Regions from separate parts of the Homo sapiens genome. Here regions 2, 3, 4 and 5 are each linked to region 1. The links are contacts of gene promoters, found by promoter capture Hi-C in blood cells and fetal thymus (Javierre and others, 2016). All regions are on one chromosome and are shown on one strand. The core of a region is centred on a gene start or on the middle of the fragment in contact, and the rest is flanking DNA. Distances in the headings are between cores, read along the strand shown.

What was found. The method cuts DNA at HindIII sites, captures the fragments that hold promoters and counts their contacts. A CHiCAGO score of 5 or more calls a contact.
Region 2: a contact is called between a fragment that was not itself captured here and the fragment with the promoter of PPP1R3C in region 1, in 11 of 17 cell types (endothelial precursors, activated CD4 T cells, M1 macrophages and 8 more). The highest score is 8.9, in endothelial precursors.
Region 3: a fragment that was not itself captured here is called in contact with the fragment with the promoter of PPP1R3C in region 1 in 5 of 17 cell types (endothelial precursors, naive CD8 T cells, M0 macrophages and 2 more); the score reaches 7.6 in endothelial precursors.
Region 4: a contact is called between a fragment that was not itself captured here and the fragment with the promoter of PPP1R3C in region 1, in 1 of 17 cell types (M2 macrophages). The highest score is 5.0, in M2 macrophages.
Region 5: a contact is called between a fragment that was not itself captured here and the fragment with the promoter of PPP1R3C in region 1, in 4 of 17 cell types (M2 macrophages, endothelial precursors, M0 macrophages and 1 more). The highest score is 12.5, in M2 macrophages.

The regions. Positions count from the first base shown.
Region 1 is chr10:91,631,657-91,634,426 of GRCh38, forward strand. It overlaps PPP1R3C (protein phosphatase 1 regulatory subunit 3C), which reads right to left and starts at 1,415. Exons shown (of 2, transcript NM_005398.7): 1 at 1,300-1,415. The coding sequence starts at 1,313. RefSeq lists enhancers at 1,046-1,547, 1,548-2,047 and a silencer at 1,382-1,521. The HindIII fragment of the contact is 3,050 bases long and covers 389-2,770 here.
Region 2 is chr10:91,379,548-91,382,317 of GRCh38, forward strand. All of the region lies in intron 3 of HECTD2-AS1 (HECTD2 antisense RNA 1), which reads right to left. Among named protein-coding and RNA genes, the nearest start is that of HECTD2, 29 kb to the right of the region's middle. The HindIII fragment of the contact is 5,140 bases long and covers 1-2,770 here.
Region 3 is chr10:91,395,990-91,398,759 of GRCh38, forward strand. The region is part of intron 3 of HECTD2-AS1 (HECTD2 antisense RNA 1); the gene reads right to left. Among named protein-coding and RNA genes, the nearest start is that of HECTD2, 13 kb to the right of the region's middle. The HindIII fragment of the contact is 766 bases long and covers 966-1,731 here.
Region 4 is chr10:91,480,214-91,482,983 of GRCh38, forward strand. It overlaps HECTD2 (HECT domain E3 ubiquitin protein ligase 2), which reads left to right. Exons shown (of 21, transcript NM_182765.6): 7 at 881-926; 8 at 2,754-2,770. The region is part of intron 3 of HECTD2-AS1 (HECTD2 antisense RNA 1); the gene reads right to left. Among named protein-coding and RNA genes, the nearest start is that of HECTD2, 71 kb to the left of the region's middle. The HindIII fragment of the contact is 2,519 bases long and covers 168-2,686 here.
Region 5 is chr10:91,496,517-91,499,286 of GRCh38, forward strand. It overlaps HECTD2 (HECT domain E3 ubiquitin protein ligase 2), which reads left to right. Exons shown (of 21, transcript NM_182765.6): 16 at 1,592-1,666; 17 at 2,356-2,443; 18 at 2,528-2,634. All of the region lies in intron 3 of HECTD2-AS1 (HECTD2 antisense RNA 1), which reads right to left. Among named protein-coding and RNA genes, the nearest start is that of HECTD2, 88 kb to the left of the region's middle. The HindIII fragment of the contact is 2,610 bases long and covers 47-2,656 here.

The DNA.
Region 1 (2,770 bases), core at 165-2,664:
TTCATATGCACTTAAAAACTATATAATTGATAATTCACCTAAAGAGATGCCCATGACAAGTCCACATTTAAGTGGAAAAACTGATTACCTGAAAGTTGGAGTGTTTTAAAATATACATTTTATATATACAAACTTATAAATATTGAAAAACTCTATAGGAAATACACCTTTCCTAATAATTTAATAATTATTATTTCTGGGTGATAGGATTATAGATTATCTATTTTCGTTTTTGTTCTTTTTTGGCATTTTCTAATAGACATTTATAAGTAGAAAGACAATAAAACCATTTAAAGTTTTAAACATGACTATGCTCAGCAATATTAAACCAAGAAGCATCTATAAAGAAGACTTTTCTCTGACCTTTAGCCCTCATCATATATTTCCAAGCTTATGGTATTAAGATTTTTTTCCCTATCTTAGCCTTACAAGTAAGAGGTGTGTGTATACTGTACACGACATTTCTCAGTCTGGCTTTAGTAACTCTCCTCACAGCAGCTCTAAACATGTATGCAAGTGGTCATTATCACAAAAGTGTGTAATAACACTCGCAGAATTTACTGTGTTAGCTCTGGGGTTTTTCTGGGAGATCTGCAAACTTAGAACAAACAAATGAAAGCTAAAGCTATATTTGTGGGTCTAATAATAGTTAATAGGCAGGATTTTTAGAGAAGTCTTCTGCTAAGCTATGTCTGGAGAAGCTATTTAAAGTAGTTTTATGGGAGGTTTTTTTTGGTTTTTTTGTTTTTTTTTTTTTACTTTTTGCATTTATAGAAAGACAGTTTTAGTTTGGGTGATTTCCTTGGAACTTTAAGTCCTGGACAAGAGTTAAAAGTAATCGTTTGCTCAAACTCTTGAGATTTTGCTATGGCAAACTGTGATAAGAAGGACGAATGAATGCAAACGTCGTCCTGTAATTTTTTTCCTCCAAGCTAAACCACCTAACCAGCAATGTCAGAGTGCTGTTCTCACCACTTCAGCTGCCCGAGTCTTTGGGACATTTGTGCAGGACCAAAAGAACAGCCGCATCCATGAGAAAATCCTAACTCAAGCTGATTCACGTTAAGATAATTTCTGCTTTAAGATGCTGATTACTAAAATAGGCTCTGCTTAAGAAATAGAGCCAAATTTCTACACCTCCAAGGCCTCTCGGTTGCCAGATTCAACTACGCAGTCAGTCCACTTGTCCTCCCCCTGGGGTGTCCATTTCCAGAGATGATAGAACTGAAACGCCCCCCAACTTCCCCACAGCTGCGCGTTCCCCTGTGTTCCTAGCGCGCAGAGTTGCAGCGAACCTACCTGGTGCAGCTCATTAGGCAGAGAGGCGGCGGACCCTAAAAGCCAGCACCCGCTGCCTGCACAAATTCGAACCACAGCTCCAGGCCTTGCCCCCGCGGCGGTCGCTGGGAGAGACTGAGGGCCCGGCGCCTAGAGGCCGCTTATCTGCTCCCAAGCACGTGACCCGATCCCTGGGACCAATCGCCGGGCCTCGAGCCCCAGGGCGCGACCAACCAGCGCCCAGCTGGGGCGCCAGCCCTCGCCCCGGCAACGTGATCGCCCCGGGGCGAGACGTGCAGAGAGCTATCTGGGCATCGCGGGGAGGTTCTGGGACTCCGCGGCCAGCTGGAACCAGCCGCGTAACGGGAACCCTGGGCTAGGGGCCGGGCAGGCACGTACCGCATGCAGCGGGCGCCGGCCAAGAGAGAGCGCAGCCAGCCTCGCCCAGGCGGGGCGCCAGTGCCTCAGGCTTGGGGCGGCTGTTACTTGGGAATAGCTTTGTGGGTCACTGCGGGTGAATCTGCACACAGAAGATGTGGCTCAAACCGAATGTGTATCGCATTTGAAATGTTTATATCGTTCATTACCCGGTGTATCCGCATTTCTCCCTCACCTTAGCCTGCGCGATCCCAAACTGGCTGCATGCTTTTCGATTAGTATGAGTTCACAGATGCACCACACAGTAGACAGCTGCCGGGAATTACCAACTTATCTAACAAATGTTGTTAGGAAAGCATACGAGCCCCATAAAACACCAAGGTGGCATTTAATTAAAAGACACTTCGTATTTCTGTCTATTCTTCAATTTTCTCCCCTGCGGGGAACACTAAAGCCGGAAGTGAAATGACCCTTTTCACACATACAGCCGGTCAAGAGGCAGCAGTCAACCCAAACCCCTTACTCAATTCTGACGTCCTTTGGCAGTGGTGTGGAAATCAAAATGTTAAAATAAAATTTAAAAAATCACGCCGTATGTTTCATGGGCCTTCTGAGCCACTCACTTTCGCTGAAGTTTCATTATTTTGATTAGTTTGAAGAATTTTTAGACCATCATTTACAACTGTAAAATTAAATGTCTAAGTCAAGTCTAAATTATTTTTATAAAACCCACATCCTAGTTTTGCTCCCCTAATTGAGCTATCCATTAGTCAATTAAAATATACAAAAATTCCTATGTCTTTTAAACAACTGTCAAACAGTGGAATTGTTAAAATTATTAGAGTGAAGAAAAAAATCACACTGAATATCACTGGGAAAGGGACTTCATGCCTGGGTTTTATTTTTGAAATGAAATATCTAACTAATGGCAGGTCTTCTAGCCCCTTTAGCTCAACCAAAACTAGCTGGAAGGTCTTTGGATTGACACTTACTAGCTACACGAATCTAGGCAAGTTCTAACCTCAGTTTCCTCATGTGTAAAACAGAGATAGTAACGTTCTGAAGATGAAGTAAGATGGTGCCAATGAACAGACTCAGCACGATGCCCAGTGCC
Region 2 (2,770 bases), core at 191-2,690, 250 kb before region 1:
TAAGCCAAAAACTGGGCTGGAGAAGCGAGGTCTTGTATTAGGCTGTTCTTGCATTGCTAAAGAAAAACCTGAGACTGGGCAATTAAAAAAAGAAAGAGGTTTAATTGACATATGGTTCTGCAGGCTTTACAGGAAGCATGGTGCTGGCATTTGCTCAACTTCTGGTGAAGCCTCAGAGAGCTTTTCATCACGGCAGAAGGCAAAGCACAGGCAGGAAATTCACATGGTGAAAGCAGGGGCAAGTGAGAGGAGGGGGAGAGGTGCCAAAACCTTTAAATGACCATATCGCATGAGAACTCAGTTGCTATCATGAAGACCGCACCAAACCATGAGGGATCCACAACCCATGATCCAAACATCTCCTACTAGGCCCCAATTCCAGCACTGGGGATTACAGCTCAACATGAGATTGTGGCAGGGACAAATATCCAAACTATGTAAGGTCTAAAATTAATGGAGAAGTCAAGTGGAATCCAATTTAGAGTAGCTCCAGGAAGTAGAATTTCCATGGGATTCTATAGGGGAACTCTATCAGCACTGGCCCCTCTTGGGGACAGCAAACAAGGAAGAGGAAGTCACAAGGTCACACCTGTCTACAAGGCAGTGTTTCCACATTCCACCATAGCTTTGGCATTTTATCTCTCACTTCCTCTGGACCTATGCGTAGGTAACTGGCCCTATCTCCACTCTCTGTGCAAAAAATCCCCCCTGGCAGGGCCTCTCTACCATTCTCCAGCTTCAGGCCTGCAAAAGCCCCAAGATCTAACTCCTAACAGAGAGCTGAGAGGCCTCAGCCCATTTGTCAATCTAAGCATGACCAGTGACTACTAAATAAAACTGACACTTAGGCCAGGCACAATGGCTCACACCTGTAATCCCAGTACTTTGATAAGGCTGAGGCTGGAGAAGACCTTGAGCCCAGGAGTTCAAGACCAGCCTGGGCAACATAGTAAGACCCCATCTCAACCAAAACACTAAACGGACAAACAAACAAACCAACAACTGACACTTAGATTCTCATTTACCTTTTAGTATTTATCATTTAATGGATTAGAACCAAAGAGAAGAAGGAATGCGCTATTATCTCCCCAGACCTCATAGAGTTAGTTCAACTGGACAAAACTCATGAATCAAATGTACTCCACTTGAGAAAAGACTGAAAAGAAAGTGAATGGTTAGCCTAGAACTACAGTTAGCCTTCATAAATTCTGTAAAGTTTATGAAAAATGTAGATTCTAGGGCTTCTCCCTTGAGATTTTGATTCTGAAAAGTTTGGAATGATACCTTGGAATCTGAATATTTAAATTCCCCAGTAAATTTAGATGCAGGTTGTTTTCAGTGGCCTAGACAATAAAAAGGGAAAATTTAAAGTTGCAAAAGTTGCTGGGGTCACCTAAATACTGTCCAGAAGATAGCTGATCTCTGTGCAGGTTGCATCCCTGCCGTGAATTATGTAGCTGCTACCCTTGTTCTGGTTCTGAGCTTATCTACAACCTTCTGGCCATAATTTGGCATCCCTTGTGGCTTGCCTGCAGGGAGATAATTGACAGATCTGCTGACATGAGCACTCTGCTCTGTTGACAGCTCTTTCTCATTACAAAATCAATACATTGGCATTACGCTTACATTTTTATTTCTGTGGCTTTGGTTACTACAGGTCTCTCCTGAAAAGCAGTTTCTCACGGTGCAAATGAAAGTGGAGCTGATCAGTCTCACATACAGAAGAATGTTCAGAACAGTAACTTCCTGCTCTGATCCCAACAGTGTCTACCCTCCCTAGAGCTCCACCCCTGCCTGGCCTTTGTCTGCAATTTCCAGGGCCACCCACACCGTCCCCGCTCTCCCAGTGCCCTGGGGAGCCGCTCTCATTTATCAAATGCTCCTTGTTCCCTACCACCTCTCAGCCTATTAAACCGCTCTGTTCCCAGTCTCTGATCTTATCTCTTCCCCTCCTTGGCTTGAAGTTGTTGTCAATCATGCCACTCCATCTTTTTTTCTTTTCTTCCCCCACCACCCCCCACCAGCCCCCTGTGATAGAGCTACAGACAGTTTACAGCTCTTTTGGTCTGGCATGACAAAAAGACCCCTTTCTGTTATCCTCACTTAGTGCACGCCTGACCCCAGAGGGCAGTTGGGTGTGTGCCGTGGTCCTGGGAAAGGAAATGGGGGAGAGAGAAAAACTCATCTTGCCAACAGGGTTAAAGCCAGACCCATCGCTGTGTCCAATTCACCACAAATGAATGTCACTCTGTACTGTGTGTTGGCAGCCAGCTGGCTTCTCGGGCGAAACCTCTGTGAATTGCCTGAGCCACATGCCTCAGCATTCATACTGCATCACATTCAAGTTAAAGAACAGAAGAAAAGGCACACTAGATTAGACCCATCTTTCTTCCCAGGCAGACTTGGGCTCTTAACAGTGGCAGTGTCTGTCAGGTTGCCCTTCAAGATATTCACCTCAATAGATTAGAGACAGCCCCACACAGCTTCTTTTCTTTTGTAACCTATTATTTAATCCTCTCCTTTATTCTCACTATCAAATTTGTCATCATGTTCTGCCAATTTCTCTTGTCACAGTCATCATTCTAACCCTCATTATCTCACATTCCAGCTATGGAGAGGCTCTGATTTTTGTGTTGGGTCTTCCCTCTCCCTACTAAAGTGATCTTCATGAAACACTTTCATCATCTCACTGGTTGGCTCCGAGTCCTACTAGGGCAGTCAGATCCAGGCTCCCCTTCCCAGATCTCAATGGATCTCAATAACCAGCTCC
Region 3 (2,770 bases), core at 99-2,598, 240 kb before region 1:
CTCAGTGTACACTAGGGCTACACTGGCCCCCTGAGACTCTGAGGACCCAGGCTCCAAGCCCACCCCAGCCACAGGCCAGCCTCTACAGACTCAGAATCAAGGCCTGCCTCAGTGCCAGTTCAGCCCCCATTAACATAGGCTTCAGGCCAGCCCCTACAAGCCTAGACTCCAGGCCTGCCCTCCTGGACCCAAGCTCTAGGCCCATCCTCCCAGATCTAGTCACTAGGTTCACTCCAGTAGACTCTAGTACCAGTACCAGGCCAGTCTCCATGGATTGAGGCACCAGGCCCATCCACCCATGGAAAGCGTCACCAGTTCAGACCACTCAGGGACTCTAGTATGAAGCCCACCAATAGACCCTTTCAGTCAGCCCACCCAGAATCTGTGGATGGGCTGACTGGTGAAGTACTTTCCTTGCTGAAGCCAGTCTGTAAAGACTGAAAGACATGCCTACTTCTTCAAATGCCAGACACCAAAGCAAGGCCAAAAAGATCAAGAAAACATACAACACTAAAGGAACAAAATAAAGTATCAGTTACTGATCCTAAACAAATAGAAATCTACAAACTGCCTGACAATTAATTCAAAATAATTGTCTTAAAGAGGCTCAGTGAGCTGCAAAAGAATGCAGATAGATAACGAAACAAAATCAGGAAAACAATTCATGAACAAAATTAGAAGTTCAACAAAGAGATTGAAGCCACACCAAAATAAACCCAACAGAAAATCTGGAGCTGAGAAACATTATCCAATTGAAAAATTCTATAGAAAGTTTCAACAAGCTGGCAAAATCAAGCATAAGAAAGAATCAGTGAGCTCAACAACAGGCTACTTGCAATTATCCAGTCAGAGGAACAACAACAACAAAAGAATGAAAAGAGTCTACAGGACTTATGGGACACCATCAAGCAAACCAATATATGCACTATGAGAGACTCAAATAGAAGCAGAGAAAGAGAGAAGAAAGCTTAAAGAAATAATGACAGAAGACTTCCCAAATATGTGGATGAAATGAACCTCCAGCTTTACAAAGCCCAAAGAACTTTAAATAGATTAAACATAAAGAGATATTCATTGAGACACCTTATAATCAAACTGTCAAGAATCAAAGAATTTTGAAAGCAGCAAAAGAAAAGCAATTTGTCACATAAAAGGGATTTCAGTGGATCAGGCTAATAGTGGATTTCTCAGCAAAGACCTCATATGCCAGAAGAGAGTGAGATCATATTGCTAAGTACTGAAAGAATAAGATGAGTAAGATTTCCAACCGGAAATACTACACCTGGCAAAGCTGTCCTTCAGAAATGAAGGAGAGATAAAGACAAACAAAAGCTGAGGGATTTTCTTCCTACTACACTTGCCTTATAAGCGATGCTAAAGAAAATCTTCAAGCAGAAATGAAAGGATGTTCATTAGTAACATTAAAATATACAAAAGTAAAAAATTCATTGTAAAGATAATAATATAGTCAAATTCGGAATACTGTAATACTGTAATGGGGTGGTGTGTATATCACTTTTAACTCTAGTATAAAAGTCAAAGGACAAAAGTATTAAAAATAACTATAGCTACAATAATTTTCTAATAGACATACAATGTAAAAAAGATGTAAATTGTGGCATCAATAACAAATTATGAGCAGGGGAGAGAGAAAGTGTAGAGTTTTTGCATGCAAAGTTAAGCTCTTGCTGGCTTAAAGTAGACTGTTATAACTATAAGATGTCTTGTGCAAGCTTCATGGTAATCACAAGGAAAAAAACCTGTAGTAGTTGCACAAAAGAGAAAGATATTAAAGCACATCACTATACAAAACCATCAAATCACAAAACGAGACAGCAAGAGAGAATGAAAAAAAACAAAGGAACTAAAAAACAGAAAAGAATTCATGAAATGGCAGTATAGGTTGAGTATTCCTTATGTGAAATTCTTGGGACTAGAGGTACTTTAGACTTTTTTTTTTTTTGGATTTTAGAATATTTGCATTATACATACCAGCTCAGAATCTTTAATTTGAAAATCCCAAATCCAAAATGCTCCACTGAGCATTTCCTTGGAGCATCATGTCATCCTTCAAAAAGTTTCAAGTTTTGGAGTATTCTGGATCTTGAATTTTCAGATTAGGGATACTCAACCTGTAGTAAGTCCTTATCTATCAATAACTCTTTAATTTTAAATGGATTAAATTCTCCAACCAAAAGACATAGATGGCTGAATGAATAATTTTATAAAACAAACACAAGATCCAACTATATGCTGCCCACAATAGACTCACATTAGGTTTATGGACAACACATATACTGAAAGTGAAGAGCTGGAAAAAGATATACCACGCAAATAGTAACTTAAAGGGAGCCAGGGTAGCTATACTTATGTCTGACAAAATAAACTATAGGTCAAAAACTGTAACAAGACAAACAAGGTCATTATATAATGAAAAAGGAGTCAATTCATCAAGAGAATATAACAATTATATATAAGTGCTTAGCATCAGAGCATCTAAATGTAAATAAAGCAAAATATTAATACACCTGAAGGAAGAAACATATAACAATTTGATAATAGTAGATTATTTCAGTACCCCACTTTCAACAATGCATAGATCATCTGTACAGAAAATCACTAAGGAAACAGAGGGCTTGAACAACACTACAGACCAAATGGGCCTAACAGACATATACAGAATATTCCATCCAACAGCAGTAGAATGCATATTCTTTGCAAGTGCATGTTCTGTGAACATTCTCCAAAATAGATAAGTAAGTCTTAACAA
Region 4 (2,770 bases), core at 177-2,676, 150 kb before region 1:
CATACAATTTATTGTGCATGCCTGATAATTTATGCAGGCATAAATGACCTTGCCAAGATTATAAAGCTCTAGGTAGGATAGGAAAGGACTTGGAGGAATAGGTGATATATACAAATAGATCTTGAGCAGGCAAGAAAGAAACACTTGTCAGCATAGAGAATGACAAAAGCTTTAATATCTGGGTTTTGTTTTTCAATCCAGGACCCAGTTAGGAATCATGAATTGCATCTGGTTGTCATAGAGGTGAACCATTTTCAATTGAAGAAGTTACTTCCAGATATCTGTGAGAATGTACCAAATAGATCTTGAGCAGGCAAGAAACACTCATTAGCCTTGAGAATAACAAAAGCTCTTGGCCAAATCTCATACTATGAGAATTCATATTAAGATGGAAAAAATTACTTACTTTTCATGATTCTTTCTGTTAGAAGCATACTGGATGTATTTAAAGTATGATTTGATTTACAGACATTTCTACATCACTTTAGGAATGAACCTAGAAACACAAGCATATTTTCTTTCTTTAATACATAAATGTTCTTAAGTAAAGATTATCCTTTATTAAAACAAAAACATAAGTATTCTAAAATTGATGATTTTATTACACACCTAACTACTTCCAGAGTTAATCATATTTACCTCACAAAATGTTATAGCCTAGTTAGCTCAGTCTTTAGTTATCTTCAGAATCAGCCTAGGAGAGGCACAGAAGCACTTGTATTTTCAGCATATTATGGACTGTCTCAATAATAATGCATATTAATCCTAGTTTTTGGCTTTTCTCAACTCAGTCTTCATAGAAAAGTTTATTGGTCTTTTTCGTTAGATGCTATGAGATTAAACATTCATCCATAATAAATTATTCTTGTTTCTTTTTCAGTCCACGAACAAAAGATGATCTTAGAGCATATTTTATACTTTTACAGGTAAGAGAACCAGAACCTAGTTGAAGTTGTCTAAGTCAGATCTCAATCCCTACATGTGTATGTGAAATGATATTAAATATTAAATATCATTTTGGGCAACATTATTGATTCTTTTTAGAATTATAGTTACCTGTAACCAGAAGATTTTTTTTAAAGTAGGATTAATAAGATTAAAAGATAAGTAAGATTTTAAAAAGTAAGAAAAATAAGATTAAAGCCATAACAAATAAATAATCAGAAGCTAAATTACATGTGAGATTAAAATTTTGATTTAGTTCCTGCCAGAGTATTCAGGAACAAACAGAATGGAAGCACTTCTTCCTCCTCCATTCAAACCTGTTTCTTGTAACTAGTTTTAACAGGCTTCAGGATTTTCTTTTATTTTCCCATCTAGTAGGTTTTCACTTCACTATGTATTTTTCAATAACTTCAATTAGAATTCTTATGGAAAGATAAAAGGTTTTTTTTTAATTTGTTATAAAGCGAAGATAATGAACTTTTTCCTCTTGATAGATACAGATTAATAGATACAAAAAGAAATTAAGATCCAGACAAATGAAAAGCAATTTTTACTTTTTATTATTTTTTGAGGAAGAAATACATTATTACCATAGCTAGCATACTATTAATACATTTGCATTATTCTTTACAATTTATAAAAGTTGTCCATGTATATTATCTCATTTAAAAGTAAGGAAAACTATATTAAATAAGTATAGTGTTTAGTACAATATTATGATATTATAATATCAATATGTCTAATGAAAGAACATATACAGGGTAGGGATAGAGAAAGTGAGGAAAGAGGAAAAAGTGGAAAAGGGGGGAAAATGACCAAGAGGTAGTTAAGAAGAGAAATGTAAGGAGGGAAAATAGAGAAGTAAGAGGAGAAAGAGCCAAAACTCAAGAATAAACATATGTAGAGATAGTAAAAGCTAGAAAGATGACACGAAGCTCAGATTTTAGGTGAGTATATTGGTCAGCCATAAGCTCTGCTCATATTTTGTTCTTCTCAAGAGCCATTACCAGATGAAGTTATCAGCTGAGGTCAGTCCCAGATTTTGAGTTGTTCTGTCAATAAGTCAGTTTTGAAAAACACATGGTGCTCTCTTATTTTTCACAATTTCAGGAGGTTTTTTTCAATAATATTTATTTTTTCCATGATGTGCTGAAATGTACATTGTGCTAGAATTTTATATTTTGGAAACATTAACTAAAGGCTTTTCTTAGTTTACAAGTATTCCTTCAGCGTCCCTTTATCATTTAAAAGTTGTCAGAAGCTGTATGTGTTTCTCCCCTTGTTCTTTGTGATATATGAGGCTAACTCATTTTACAATGGCAAAAGTTTCACAACCAGCTTTTACTTCGTTTTTCTAGCTTTTAATCAAGGAACACCCAGGTTTTTTGCTTTTAATTGGATGATAGTGATTGGTACCATTTATGAAGGCACTTTTTATGAAGGTGCTTTATATACATTTTCTTTTTCGATACTCAAAACAACCCTTAAGATAGAGAATATCATTCCCATTTTACAGATAAGGACATTGAGAATCAAAGTGTAAGGAACATGCCTAAGGGCATATAGCTAGTAAGTGGTAGAATTAGCCCTCAGACCCAGATCTGTCTTAACTCCAAAGCCCATGCTCTTTTCACTGTATAGCCGCAGTGTAAATGAAAGTCTCTGTTAATTAAATAACAAATAGGTTATTGTTATTTTATAATCTCAAATTTTGTTTCCTGAATTTACCACGTACTTATTAAGCTTAGTGTCTTTCCTTTTACGTGTTAACAGAATTTTAACACAATTATCTTTAATATCTTTTTCAGAATCCTCAGTTTAATAA
Region 5 (2,770 bases), core at 102-2,601, 140 kb before region 1:
TTTTCTTTCCTTAGAGACACATGTCACCCACTTTGCAGTGCTCCTAAGCTTTTACAAGATAGAGAGGCAGTAATTCGAATCCAGGCTCTGTCACTTACTAGCTCTGTGAATTTGGACAAGTTATTTAACCCTTCAATTTAGTTTCTTTATGTGAACAATGGGATAGTTTTTATTAATAATTTTTAAATGATGACAATTATATCAAATCTGTGCCAGCCTAGATTTGTATGAAAATTTGTGGTTTTAAAGGAATAGAACATTTATTATGTAAAATATAGAAAATCATTCTAATCATGCTATTATTTACCTTTTTCTAATAATTTAAAATAAAACTTTAATTTTTTCATAAAAATTAAATTGAAAATTTTGAAATATTGGATCAATTTTTCTATTTTTAAATCTTTATTTATGGATAATTTCAATTATAATATAATGTAAGAAAATCTTTCTTTTTTTTTTTTGAGACAGAATCTCACTCTGTCACCCAGGCTGGAGTGCAGTGGCTCCACCTTGGCTCACTGCAACCTCCGCCTCCTGGGTTCAAGTGATTCTCGTGCCTCAGCCTCCTGAGTATCTGGGATTTTAGGCATGTGCCACCGTGCCCGGCAAATTTTTTTTTTTTTTTTTTTTTTTTTTTTTAGCAGAGACGGGGTTTTGCCATGTTGGCCAGGCTGGTCTCGAACTCATGGCCTCAAGTGATCCGCCTGCCTCAGCCTCCCAAAGTGCTGGGATTACAGGCATGAGCCACTGAGCCCAGCCAGAAAATGTTTCTTTTTTTTTTTTTTTTTCTGCCCAAGACAGTCTTGCTCTGTTGTCCAGGCTAGAATGCAGTGGAACAATCTCAGCTCACTGCAACCTCCACCTCCCAGGTCCGAGCAATTCTCCTGCCTCAGCCTCCCGAATAGCTGGGATTACAGGTGTGAGCCACCACACCTGGCTATTTTTTTTTTTTTTTTTTTTTTTTTTGGATTTTTAGTAGAGACAGGGTTTCACCATGTTGGCCAGGCTGGTCTTGAACTCCTGACCTTGTGATCTGCCCACCTCGGCCTCCCAGAGTGCTGGGATTACAGGCATGAGCCACCGTGCCCGGCTAACCAGAAAATGTTTCTTTCAGTATACTTAACTTTTTCTTGGGAGGGGAGGGCACTGTGCATGTATGAACTGTATATTCATGAATGCACATGAATGAACTGTGTGTTTTATGTTTAAAATATGAATCCAAAAACATTAGCAGATTTTCATAGGAATATAAATTGAAAGTGAGAAATACTACAAATTCATAAACAGTAATGTGGCAGATAGCAGTGAATTATGACAGACACTACATTAGAGGTATGCTTAGCTTGCTGCTTAAGAGTAGACCCCAGAGTTATGCCCCTGTAGTTTGAACTGGATAGTTTCCCCATCTATGACCTATAATGATTTTTTTCTTAGCCTCTGGATGGTAGAAATCATTAACCATTTTGTGCCCTGGAAAATACATGTCAAATATGATCTTTATATACATATGCATGAGCTATAGAAAAGCCACTTCATTATCCTAGCTAATGCTATTCTATTGAAAAAATCATTAACAGATTTCTTTTTATAGGAGTTGGCCCATGGATTAAGTGAACTCTTATCACATGAAGGCAATGTTGAAGAAGATTTCTATTCAACATTTCAGGTACTATTAAGGGCAAGTAGTTATCTGTTAATCATATATTTCATATATGAACAGTGCAATTTGTTATTAAATACCCACTGTTAGAAAAGATGAACAAGGATTAACCAATACATACAATCCTCTGTCTTAAAGGACCTTAACCTGATAAAGTAGACATGTGTAGATGAGCAGTCAATGAAAGTGCTTAATGAAATTCACTAAGGGTTCAGAGTACTCTCTAGGCAATTACATATCCCCTTGAGTTGGTTACTTTCTCAGAGCTTTTTAGTTTCTAAAAATAAGCCTCTCCTGTAACTTCAACATTAGAAGCTAGGAGTAGAAACTAATGAGTCAGACCAAAACTCTCTGATTTCCACTCCTTTTACAGTATTTGGGAAATGGACATTACAGTGATCTGCAGAGCTCCAGGGACCCGCTGTGTATTATCTAGATGTCCACACAGTTTTGTGGACTTCATTAAAGTATTTAACTGTATTAGGCAGGGTTAAGTTAAGGCACTATTTTTTAACTCCATAATTCTTTTATGATCCCTCGTTCTTAATACAAATATTGCAAGAGCTTAGCCTTTTATAGTTTATGTGTTTAGAAGGAAGGGGGAAAAAAACTGTTTTTTAAATTTTACAAACCTGTTCACCAAAGTATGTTATTATATCAACCATATTAATATGTGTAATGGCATCTCCCATCAGGTTTTTCAAGAAGAATTTGGAATAATCAAGTCCTATAATTTAAAGCCCGGTGGTGATAAAATTTCAGTTACCAATCAAAATAGAAAAGGTAAGTTAATACCCTTTTTAATTAAAATGAATTAGTATTTGCCATTTACTTTTACTATTTAAGAGATGTAAAATTGCTTTTCAGAATATGTACAGCTTTATACTGACTTCCTTCTGAACAAATCCATCTATAAGCAGTTTGCTGCATTTTATTATGGATTTCATAGTGTGTGTGCTTCAAATGCCCTAATGGTGAGTTTATAACTTTAAATCAAGCTTTCGGTTAGCTTTTGTAGTACTATCATGTTAACAAATAATTAATAAATATTTTAGTAGATAAGCTTTTAAAATAGAAAATATTTTCTACTTTTTAAAAGTAGAACTAAAA